Regions from separate parts of the Homo sapiens genome. Here regions 2 and 3 are each linked to region 1. The links are contacts of gene promoters, found by promoter capture Hi-C in human tissues and cell types (Jung and others, 2019). All regions are on one chromosome and are shown on one strand. The core of a region is centred on a gene start or on the middle of the fragment in contact, and the rest is flanking DNA. Distances in the headings are between cores, read along the strand shown.

The links. The method cuts DNA at HindIII sites, captures the fragments that hold promoters and counts their contacts. A contact is called where the count stands out against the background at its distance.
Region 2: a contact is called between the fragment with the promoter of FOXA2 here and the fragment with the promoter of NKX2-2 in region 1, in 1 of the 25 tissues and cell types used here (H1 embryonic stem cells).
Region 3: a fragment that was not itself captured here is called in contact with the fragment with the promoter of NKX2-2 in region 1 in 1 of the 25 tissues and cell types used here (spleen).

The regions. Positions count from the first base shown.
Region 1 is chr20:21,511,869-21,515,625 of GRCh38, reverse strand. It overlaps NKX2-2 (NK2 homeobox 2), which reads left to right and starts at 1,562. Exons shown (of 2, transcript NM_002509.4): 1 at 1,562-2,215; 2 at 3,141-3,757. The coding sequence starts at 1,957. The coding sequence ends at 3,703. The HindIII fragment of the contact is 15,862 bases long and covers 1-3,757 here.
Region 2 is chr20:22,582,756-22,586,456 of GRCh38, reverse strand. FOXA2 (forkhead box A2) reads left to right here and starts at 1,885. Exons shown (of 2, transcript NM_021784.5): 1 at 1,885-2,265; 2 at 3,303-3,701. The coding sequence starts at 2,179. RefSeq lists enhancers at 1-344, 1,100-1,855, 3,280-3,701. The HindIII fragment of the contact is 10,630 bases long and covers 207-3,701 here.
Region 3 is chr20:20,382,219-20,385,672 of GRCh38, reverse strand. No RefSeq gene overlaps it. Among named protein-coding and RNA genes, the nearest start is that of INSM1, 16 kb to the right of the region's middle. The HindIII fragment of the contact is 6,215 bases long and covers 1-3,454 here.

The DNA of each region.
Region 1 (3,757 bases), core at 313-2,812:
CCAATCTACACCCCTGCACCCCCCCCCCAAAAAAGTTTTAACTAGAAGAAGGGGTGGCAAATGCGGCGTGGTCTTTTCCAACCCCAGCGCCGAGGAGGAAGTGCAAGTCCCGGGAAAGTTCAGTTCCCAGAGCCGAGAGTGGCTGGAAACTTCACACTAACCTGACTTAACCTGGAAACGTGGAGCGCGTACTCCGAACGCACCCAAGGCGTCCAAAAAGAGACCACACTAAAGAACTCGCGTGGGAGAAGAAAACTGGGGAGAAAACGAGGCATCGTCGGGCCACCCAGCGACCCCCCTCCCCCGCAGCTTTCTGGGTCTTCACCCAGGCTGGAGACACAACCCCCACCCCCACCCCCGCAATCCCGCCCCGCCGCCTTCCCGCTGCTCCACCTCTAGCCAGAGGCTGGAGAGGGAGGGGGCCGGAGAGGGAGGGATAATAGAGGGCAGGAAAGAGCAGGGCCGTCTGCCCTTTCCTCCACCCGGGGAAAGAGGCCCGCAGAGCCCAGAGGCAGCAGGGCCAGGGTCCGACCCCAGACGAAGTTGGAGCTCCTCACTCTTACCCCGCCCTCCCCGGGACCGCCCGCAAAGCAGAAAGTGAACTGCGCGTCCTCCTTGGCCGCAGAGAGGTGGAGGCGGGGGGTTGGGGGTGGGAGGTGGGGGGAGGCGGAGTGAAGGAAATAAATGAGTCTTTAGCAAATAAAGGGCGGCTGGAAGGGGGCGGGTCGCTTGGTGGTGGCTCTGGCCGGCCCGGAGCGGAGCTCTCTCCTGGGTTTTGGGCTCTCTCGCGGTTAACTGGAATCAATTACTTGCCTTGTCATTTCTAGCACTCATCCTTAAGCCTCAACCAAAATATTGACCTAGGAGGCTTACAGAAGTTGGGCTCTTGCCATTTGAACCGGATCTTGTTTAGGCAACCACCAACGATGGAAAGGAGAGATTTCCGCAGCTCGGCCTTCGCCCCCTCCCCCTTTTCCAAAGGCGCCACAAATCGCCAATTTTCCGGCTTGCCGGGGGTGGGCGCGCGGGGGCGGGGAGGTAGGAACCGGTGAATGTTAAAGAGGATTTTTTCCCTCCTCCTGGTTTCTGTTTTGTTTTCTCCCCTCCTCCTCCCCACCCCCACCTTTTTTAAGATGCAATTTGTTAAAACGGCCCTTTCAAGTGTGTGGACTCGCGAGCGACGCGGTGGCCCTTTGTATGTAAATACTGGGTTTAAAAAAAAAAAGGCTCGCCCCGTCTTTGCAATTAATTGACACGTTACACCTCTCATCTTGCTCTAGAGGGCCGTTGGCTGGGAGCGCGGAGCTCCCCAAAACCCACAATTTCACATCTGCAAATACTGTCTTCATCCACTTGACTCCCAAGACCCGCCCACACGTGGCCAACCTTTGCGTTTTTAATGTCTCTTCCCCCTTTTTTCCACCCTTCTCCCGCTCCCTCTCTCGCTCCCCCTCCCTCCCTCTTTCTTTCCCTCCCTCCCTCTCTTTCTCCCCCTCTCCCCGCCTCCCCAGGTTCGTGAGTGGAGCCCAGCCTTATATGGACTGATCGCTCGGGCAATGGCCCATTTTTTCCTCGCCACCAGCCGCCACCGCGCGCCGAGCGGCCGCCGGAGCCCGAGCTGACGCCGCCTTGGCACCCCTCCTGGAGTTAGAAACTAAGGCCGGGGCCCGCGGCGCTCGGCGCGCAGGCCGCCCGGCTTCCTGCGTCCATTTCCGCGTGCTTTCAAAGAAGACAGAGAGAGGCACTGGGTTGGGCTTCATTTTTTTCCTCCCCATCCCCAGTTTCTTTCTCTTTTTAAAAATAATAATTATCCCAATAATTAAAGCCAATTCCCCCCTCCCCTCCCCCAGTCCCTCCCCCCAACTCCCCCCTCCCCCGCCCGCCGGGGCAGGGGAGCGCCACGAATTGACCAAGTGAAGCTACAACTTTGCGACATAAATTTTGGGGTCTCGAACCATGTCGCTGACCAACACAAAGACGGGGTTTTCGGTCAAGGACATCTTAGACCTGCCGGACACCAACGATGAGGAGGGCTCTGTGGCCGAAGGTCCGGAGGAAGAGAACGAGGGGCCCGAGCCAGCCAAGAGGGCCGGGCCGCTGGGGCAGGGCGCCCTGGACGCGGTGCAGAGCCTGCCCCTGAAGAACCCCTTCTACGACAGCAGCGACAACCCGTACACGCGCTGGCTGGCCAGCACCGAGGGCCTTCAGTACTCCCGTAAGTAGCAAAACTTGGCTGCCGAGGCCGTGGTCCCCTCCATTCCTGCAGCCGCAGCCCGGGTTGGACGCTGGGAGTGAAAGGGGAAGGGGCCATGTAAGCCCGGACCCCCTCACTCGGATCCGTAGAAAGATTTTTAACACCTGTATAGGATGTCCTCTGCCCTCCTCTTCAAGCCTCCTTAGTTCCGGGAAAGAACTTGGTCTCCAAAATTTTTTTCAATGCGAGAAGTTAAGGAGAAAGAGGGAGAAGGGCTATACCTCCCAGGGGCTGGTATATGATGTCAACCCGGACCGATGGCTCCAGCCGCAGCCCCCGGACTCCGGCCGCTGGGAGGGACTGGCCTGGCGCCCTGGAGGTAGCCAGCGAGCCTCGTCCGGGTACGGGTGGAGGGTGGGGAGGCTTCGGGTGGCCCGGGTATAAATAGCTCACCCTGCCCCCTGCGCGATCATAGAGGACGCTTTGTGCAGTGCAGGGGGTGTCTAGAAGGCCCGAAAGCAGAAACGAAAGCCCCCAAAAACCTGCCTTAAATGGCCGAGCCGATCAATGCTGGGATTGTGGGGTATTTCTTTTAAAAATCTGCCCACGTCTCGCCGGAGAGGAAACCGCTTAAGGGCGCCGGAGCCCTTAACCCGCGATGATCTTCAGTGCCACTTCCCCCCCCAAATTCTCACCCACACTATGTGAGCCCCTTGAAAGGCGAGCCCCTAGCCCCCACTCCTACGGATTTCCCTCTTTACCCTGGGAGGTCCCGACGTCTTCGTCAGGCGTAGAGGAAGGCAGGGGTCATGGCAAAGGCAGCGGGGCTGGGCTGCCAGGCGCGGAGGTCCAGGGTCGCACGGAGGATCCAGGGTGCTCCGAGTCTGGTGCAGGCTGCGCGCGGCCTCCAGACGCCTGACGCGCTTCTCTCTCCCCCTCCCCCCAGTGCACGGTCTGGCTGCCGGGGCGCCCCCTCAGGACTCAAGCTCCAAGTCCCCGGAGCCCTCGGCCGACGAGTCACCGGACAATGACAAGGAGACCCCGGGCGGCGGGGGGGACGCCGGCAAGAAGCGAAAGCGGCGAGTGCTTTTCTCCAAGGCGCAGACCTACGAGCTGGAGCGGCGCTTTCGGCAGCAGCGGTACCTGTCGGCGCCCGAGCGCGAACACCTGGCCAGCCTCATCCGCCTCACGCCCACGCAGGTCAAGATCTGGTTCCAGAACCACCGCTACAAGATGAAGCGCGCCCGGGCCGAGAAAGGTATGGAGGTGACGCCCCTGCCCTCGCCGCGCCGGGTGGCCGTGCCCGTCTTGGTCAGGGACGGCAAACCATGTCACGCGCTCAAAGCCCAGGACCTGGCAGCCGCCACCTTCCAGGCGGGCATTCCCTTTTCTGCCTACAGCGCGCAGTCGCTGCAGCACATGCAGTACAACGCCCAGTACAGCTCGGCCAGCACCCCCCAGTACCCGACAGCACACCCCCTGGTCCAGGCCCAGCAGTGGACTTGGTGAGCGCCGCCCCAACGAGACTCGCGGCCCCAGGCCCAGGCCCCACCCCGGCGGCGG
Region 2 (3,701 bases), core at 636-3,135, 1.1 Mb before region 1:
TCCCTGCCCTCGGTGGAGTGATGAAGTTGCTCCCATCCACGCGCTAGGTGGGACCCCGTGGGAAATGCTGGGGATCTAGCCCCTCTGACTCCGCTGCGCACACCTCCACGTTCACTACGTAGCCGTACACACCATCAAGCTCCTTCCCTGGCGCACCGGGCTGGCCTGCCCCTCGTGGGAGCCTTCAGCACTCGGGGGACCGATAGGCACGGCTTCCGCGGAGATACAGACCTTGAATTTGTGGGAGAATCCCGCCCTGGCGCTCACTCGGCGGGCTTATTAATGCCCTCTTTATGAAGTGTCCAAACCATCTGCATTTCAGCAGCAAAAGATGCTGCCGGCGGCTTCCTTCTGTGTCCCAAACCGTGCAGACCTGAGAGTCCTGGGGTTAGGGAAGTGGTTCCCCTGTGCCTACTGCTACCTCCTCGCTTGCCTTCCAGCCTCACCCTTACTCAAGCTTCAATGCGAAGCTCCGTGTCTGCCATCTCGCCTGTCTTCTGCCACCATCGCCCCCAATTTTGGACAGGTGGGCTGGATGCCCACTAGTTCCTATGCATTCTCTGTGTCTGAGGGGGTGGGTACAGGGCTGGATCCCCAAGGTCCAGCCAGGTTTTCAGAACCAAGAAAGAGCCTCCACATCCAAACACCTGCAATATCCCCCCACTCCAAATCTGGGCTCACAGGCTAACCCAGAACAGAAGACAATTTTTGAACCCAAGAGCTGCTGGGGAAATAAAAGTATACGATTGCTGGAGTTTCTAATTTCTATTAAGCAGTCCCTCTGGAAGACAGAGAGGACAGAGACGCTCTTGAAGTCAACTCCATATGCCCCATCATTGATTCCTGGATTCTTCTCTCCTCACCCCTCCCTCCCCACCTCCTGCCCTGTTTGTTTTAGTTACGAAATGCTGTGGGCACCTCGGTTGTGACTGAAAAGTAACCTTGAAACACGCCGGCCTGAATATCAGAGACAAATCTCAGCCTCCCAACCGTCGGCCGCTGCTAGAGGGGCTGCTTGCGCCAGGCGCCGGCCGCCCCACTGCGGGTCCCTGGCGGCCGGTGTCTGAGGAGTCGGAGAGCCGAGGCGGCCAGACCGTGCGCCCCGCGCTTCTCCCGAGGCCGTTCCGGGTCTGAACTGTAACAGGGAGGGGCCTCGCAGGAGCAGCAGCGGGCGAGTTAAAGGTGTGTACGTAGTTTTTCTAAATAGGACAGCGCTTTGCAAATTGGCTGTCATGGACTTGCTGTTTTGACAGAGAATGAGCACTGAGAGCGAAGAAACCCGGCATAAATAAATCCGGCTTTCATAGGGATCTGCCGGGCACTGAGGCTGGACGCGCCCTCCGACAGGCGCACCGGGCGCCCGGCGCGATGAGACGGGGCGGGGGCTGGAGGCCGGAGCCGCCCCAGAGGGTGGTTTCCTCCCAGGTCCCTCCTTCCTCAGGGGACTCGCTGTGGACCCGGGAGGAAAGGGGGCTCGACCAGGGATCCCGCGTGCCCGATCGCCCGCCCAGCCCGCTCCCCTGGCCCGCCCAGGAGTGCGGGGCGCCGCGGCGGTGGGGCGGACGGCAGGCGCTGAGGGGCAGGTGCGGAGCGCCGGCTGCGGCTACCTCTCACCTAGGTGTGAGCTGATTATTCAAATGGGCTGCCCCGGGTCTGGGGATTGGAGGCCCGCGCCAGCGCGCCGCGCTATATCACCAGCCTCCCACGTCACTGCGGCACTTGTCCGCTCCGCGGTCCACACCTCCTCCTCCTCCTCCTCCTCCTCCTCCTCCTCCTCCTCCTCCACCACCACCACCGCCTCCTCCTCCTCCTTCCTCCTCCTCCTCCCCACCCCCCCACTAGCCCCCGCGCCGCGCGCTTCCCGCCGCCTCGGGGCAGCTCGGCACTGCCAACCTCAGCCGCCACCCGGCAGCCCGTGAGCGCGGCGGCGGCGGGTGCTCCCTACCGCGGGGCGCTGGCCTGGGCCTCCTCCGCTCCTCGCCCCCCCCCACCTCCCGCCCACTTCCAACTACCGCCTCCGGCCTGCCCAGGGAGAGAGAGGGAGTGGAGCCCAGGGAGAGGGAGCGCGAGAGAGGGAGGGAGGAGGGGACGGTGCTTTGGCTGACTTTTTTTTAAAAGAGGGTGGGGGTGGGGGGTGATTGCTGGTCGTTTGTTGTGGCTGTTAAATTTTAAACTGCCATGCACTCGGCTTCCAGTATGCTGGGAGCGGTGAAGATGGAAGGGCACGAGCCGTCCGACTGGAGCAGCTACTATGCAGAGCCCGAGGTAAGCGCTCGTCTTTTCCAGGGGGAAGTGGAGCGGCGGCGCTCGCTCCTTCCCCAACCTCAGGACCGCTTCCCTCGCTGGCACCCCCCCACCCCGCCCCACAACCCCAGCCTTTCTGGGCAGCCGCCTTTTCCGCCCTCCTTGGAATCAAATGGGTCTCTTTTTTATACGACACACTGTTAGCCTTGAGATAATATTAACTTTGTGATCAAATATTGACTTGCGGCGCCTCCAAATCCTCTTCGTGGCCGAGCCACGCACTATCCTAACAGAGTTATGTTTGGCAGCGCGCGGCTGGGGAGGGGTGGGAGGTCGGCCGGCGAGGGGGTGGGGAGCTGAGGAGGAGAAGATGGGTAGGAGTTGGGGGCTGAAGTGGAGGCAGAGTCAAAGACTAGTGGACAAAGAGAAAGAAAGTTTTTGCCTGCAAAGCTCAGCCGCGTGTGGTTCAGGTCTCGGTTCTTTCCCTATTGCCCCGTTCAGTGCCTCCAGCCGCCCCCGCACTCCGCACAGGCACTGCCTTGCAGTTTCCCTGGGACAAGGGAGGGGGTCCCTGGAGGGAGACCGGACAGAGGGGGCCCGGGACAGTCTTCGCTGGAGGCAGCCCGAGGCGCCCCGCGCGTTGTCCCGCAGGTTGCTTGCTGCGACCGGAGGTGGCGTCCGGGGACTTCGGGCCTCGGCGCCAGCTCAGTATGCTGGTGGGAGAGTTTGGGGAGACTCTGGGGTAGGGGAATGTATTTGGGGTGCTGGCTTGGGAGTACTCCATGGGACCCCTGTTCTAGAATCTGGGCGAGGTGGAGAAGGGCTAGGAACGGGCCACATGCCCAAGCAGCAATCCGCTCGCCACCTTCCCAAGGGCGATCGATCATGACTCTCCCTGAATGAAACAGACTCGGAGTCCGGAGACTGGGCCATCGGGGACGAAAGGGCTCCCCGGAGGCCTCCCCGGACGCGGAGGCCTGGGCGGTGGGTGGGAGGTCTGGGCACCCTCCAGCCGCGGTGCTAACGCTGTCGCCTCCCTCCCGGGGCTCTGTCCGCAGGGCTACTCCTCCGTGAGCAACATGAACGCCGGCCTGGGGATGAACGGCATGAACACGTACATGAGCATGTCGGCGGCCGCCATGGGCAGCGGCTCGGGCAACATGAGCGCGGGCTCCATGAACATGTCGTCGTACGTGGGCGCTGGCATGAGCCCGTCCCTGGCGGGGATGTCCCCCGGCGCGGGCGCCATGGCGGGCATGGGCGGCTCGGCCGGGGCGGCCGGCGTGGCGGGCATGGGGCCGCACTTGAGTCCCAGCCTGAGCCCGCTCGGGGGGCAGGCGGCCGGGGCCATGGGCGGCCTGGCCCCCTACGCCAACATGAACTCCATGAGCCCCATGTACGGGCAGGCGGGCCTGAGCCGCGCCCGCGACCCCAAGACCTACAGGCGCAGCTACACG
Region 3 (3,454 bases), core at 346-2,845, 1.1 Mb after region 1:
GTGGGAAGGGGCTTGCTATTATAGATCCTGAAAGGATCTTTTTGACTTTAGAAAATAGCCTGGCAAAGAAAAGCTTTTTTCCGTGAATACTCAGGGACTGCATTATGCCCCTCAGATGATAGAGGAGAGTACTTTTGATCAATATTCCCTAAGAAATGGCCGCTGGGCTAAGTGCAGAGGGCCTCAATAGCAGTCTCCCTCCCGCCCGACCTGCAGAGCGCCTGCGGCAAATGTCTCGGAGCAGTGGGAACCAGCAAGGGCGGTACATTAATGGTATCATCTTCTCCTTTTAAAAAAATGTCACCCCATTTTGTCCTCCATGTTGATGGCTGATTATGGGCCCAGTGGAAACAGTTATTTCTATAGCTTTCTTTGGGGAAATCTTGGATCTTCGTTTCAGGCACCAGGAAAAGTGACCCCCTGGAACAGTTTCAACCTAAAGGCGAGAGTAAAATGCTGGTGGGAAAACTCACATCAGGAGCTTCTTTTAATCAAGGAAGGTTTTTTTTTTCTTTTTTTTACTAATGATCAAGATTTTAATGAAATAGCCAAAGTACAAATTTGTATATTACATCGGGTGTTCTATACTTTTTTCTCTTAAAAATAATGATCTGCCTCTATTCCAACCCCCATCTCCCTAAGACTGATAAGCAGGTTATTCAAAAGAACATTCTCAGCTGGGAGCAGTGGCTCATGCCTGAATCCTGCATTTTGGGAGGCTAAAGCGGATGGATCACTTGAGGTCAGGAGTTCGAGACCAGCCTGGCCAACATGGTGAAACTGTCTCTACTAAAAATACAAAAATTAGCAGGGCGTGGTGGCTCATGCCTGTAGTCCCAACTACTCGGGACGCTGAGGCAGGAGAATCGCTCAAACCCGGGAGGCGGAGGTTGCGGTGAGCTGAGACTGCACCACTGCATTCCAGCCCGGGTGACAGAGTGAAACTCTGTCTCCAAAAAAAAAAAAAGGAACATTCTTTCCAGATTAATGCAAAGACATAGAAATAGCATCATACAATACACATTATTCTACAACATCCTTGTTAAACTTTACAGTGTCATAGGCACCCCTCCATCTAGTTTATCATTTTCCGTAGTTGCATTTTATTCCTTAATACAGATGTACCTTAATTTACTCAGCCCATCTGTGCATTAAGGTGGCTTCCAGTGTTTGTCATAACAAAGACACCTGTAATAAACACCAGCACGCCTATATCCTGACACACTGCTGCTTTTATTTCTGTATGATAAATTTCCAAAAAAAAATGAAATTACTGAGTCAGAGAGTATATGTCATTGTTATGGACTGAATGTTTGTGTCTTCCCGAAACCCATATGTTGAAGCCCTAACCCCCAGTGTTTACTAGGAGGTGGGATCTTTGGGAAGTGACTGGGTTGCGATGAGGTCCTGGGGATGGGGTCTCCATGGTGGGATTAGTGCTCTTAGAAGAAGAGAGACCAGAGCTTCTCTCTCTCTGCCATGTGAGGACACAGGGAGGAGGCTGCTGTCTGCAAGCCAGGAAGGAGGTCTTCACTGGAGAACCAAATCAGCCCACTCCTTGATCTTAGACTTTCCAGCCTCCAGAACTGTGAAAGATAAATTCCTGTTGTTCACGCCATTCCTATTATTTTAAGTTTAAGCCACTCAGTCTATGGTATTTTGTTAACGGCAGCACAAGCTAACTGAGACAGTCATTATAGTCCTAATAGATTGATTATTTGACCACTTTTGAATTCTATAAAGTCGGTTTTGGAGTTATATTTAAAAATGAAGCTAGGACCCATGTTTTCCCATGTTTGTATAGGATAACTCAGTAAATTACCCAACAGCTTAAGAAAAGAAAAGAAAAATTTTAAGGGGCACCCAGGAAAAAGGCATAATTTCAGCCATGACAAAACGAGGCATTTGTTGACCAAAGTGAGGACTCCCAATCAGTGTGCCCACACCGTATGTCTTTTCATGATAATGTTCCAAAGAATTTCTCAATTTTGAAGAAATTTTTGAAAATACTAACATAAATGCATCAAAATACACCACAAATTCACCTTGTGTCATAGATTGGAGAGGAACGTGGTCCTAGGAATCAGTGTTGGCTTCCGATTCCACCTGCACACACTCTTGAGCGGCCATTCCCTAGTCATTCTGGCTCATTTCCTCACCTGGGACTTGGGGCGATAGTACTGATTGTGGTAGCCAACCTCAAGGATTGCCCCAGCAATCATCACCTCCTGGAATTCATACCTATGCGTGGTCCTTTACATGCTGATTCAGAGATGACCTGTGGGACCAATGGAACTCAGCAAAAGTGATATATCTTCCAAGATTAGTCATAAAGGTATTACAGTTTCCACTTTGGTCTCCTGGATGGCTTGCTTTGGAGAGAGCCACCATGCTGTCAGGACACTCAAGCAGTGCTATAGAGACCAGCATCCATGTGAGGGAGCCATCTTGGAAATAGATCCTCCAGCCCCAATCAACCCTTCACTTGACTGCAGCCCCAGTGGAAAACTCAGTGTAACTTCATGAAGGACCCCAAGCCAGAACCACCAAGCCAGGCTGCTACTGAATTCCTGACCCACACAAATAATTAGATATAATAAATCTCTGTTGTTGTTGTAAATGCTCAGTTTTGGGGAGATCTGTTGTTACACAGTCATAGTGCTTGGGACATTGACCTAATGGTTGTTTTCAAGACAATGTACAGAAGGCATTTACATACAACAGTGCATTCTACTAGTGAACCGAGACCACCTCATTTTGTGGAGGGCTACATCAAGGAGCCAGACACCTGGGTTCTGCTCTCTATGTCTTAGATGAAGAGCCTTCTGATTGAGGGCAAGGCATTCAACATTCAGACTTTTCTTAATATACAAATCAATGAATCATAATCTATAAAGGATTGTTGTGAAGGCCAAATGGAAAAATTCACATGCAGGCCGGGCATAGTGGCTCACGCATGTAATCCTAACACTGTAGGAGGCCAAGGTGGGAGAATCACCTGAGCCCGGCGGTTCGAGACCAGCCTGGGCAACAAAGTGAGACCCCCCCCACCCATCGCTACAAAAAATAAAACATTAGCTGGGCATGGTGGTACGTACCTGTGGTCCCAGCTGTAGGGGAGGCTGAGGTGGGAGGATTGCTTGAGGCCCAGAGGTCAAGGCTACAGTGAACCATGTTCATACCACTGCACTCCAGTCTGGGTGACAGAGTGAGACCCTGGAGCAAAAATAAAAATTCACACTCAGGCAGTCTAAAAGCCAGAGAGCACTGAAAAACTGATATCAGGTGTGTTCCTGATATCAGTTATCTATTGCTAATGAATCAGTAATAAATATCAGTTGTCTATTGCTACATAACAAATCACCCCAAAACTCAGTGGCTAAAAACAACCACTATCATTTTATTACAGTCTCACACAGCTCTGGGGGGTGAGCAGGCCCAGCTGGGCTGTTCC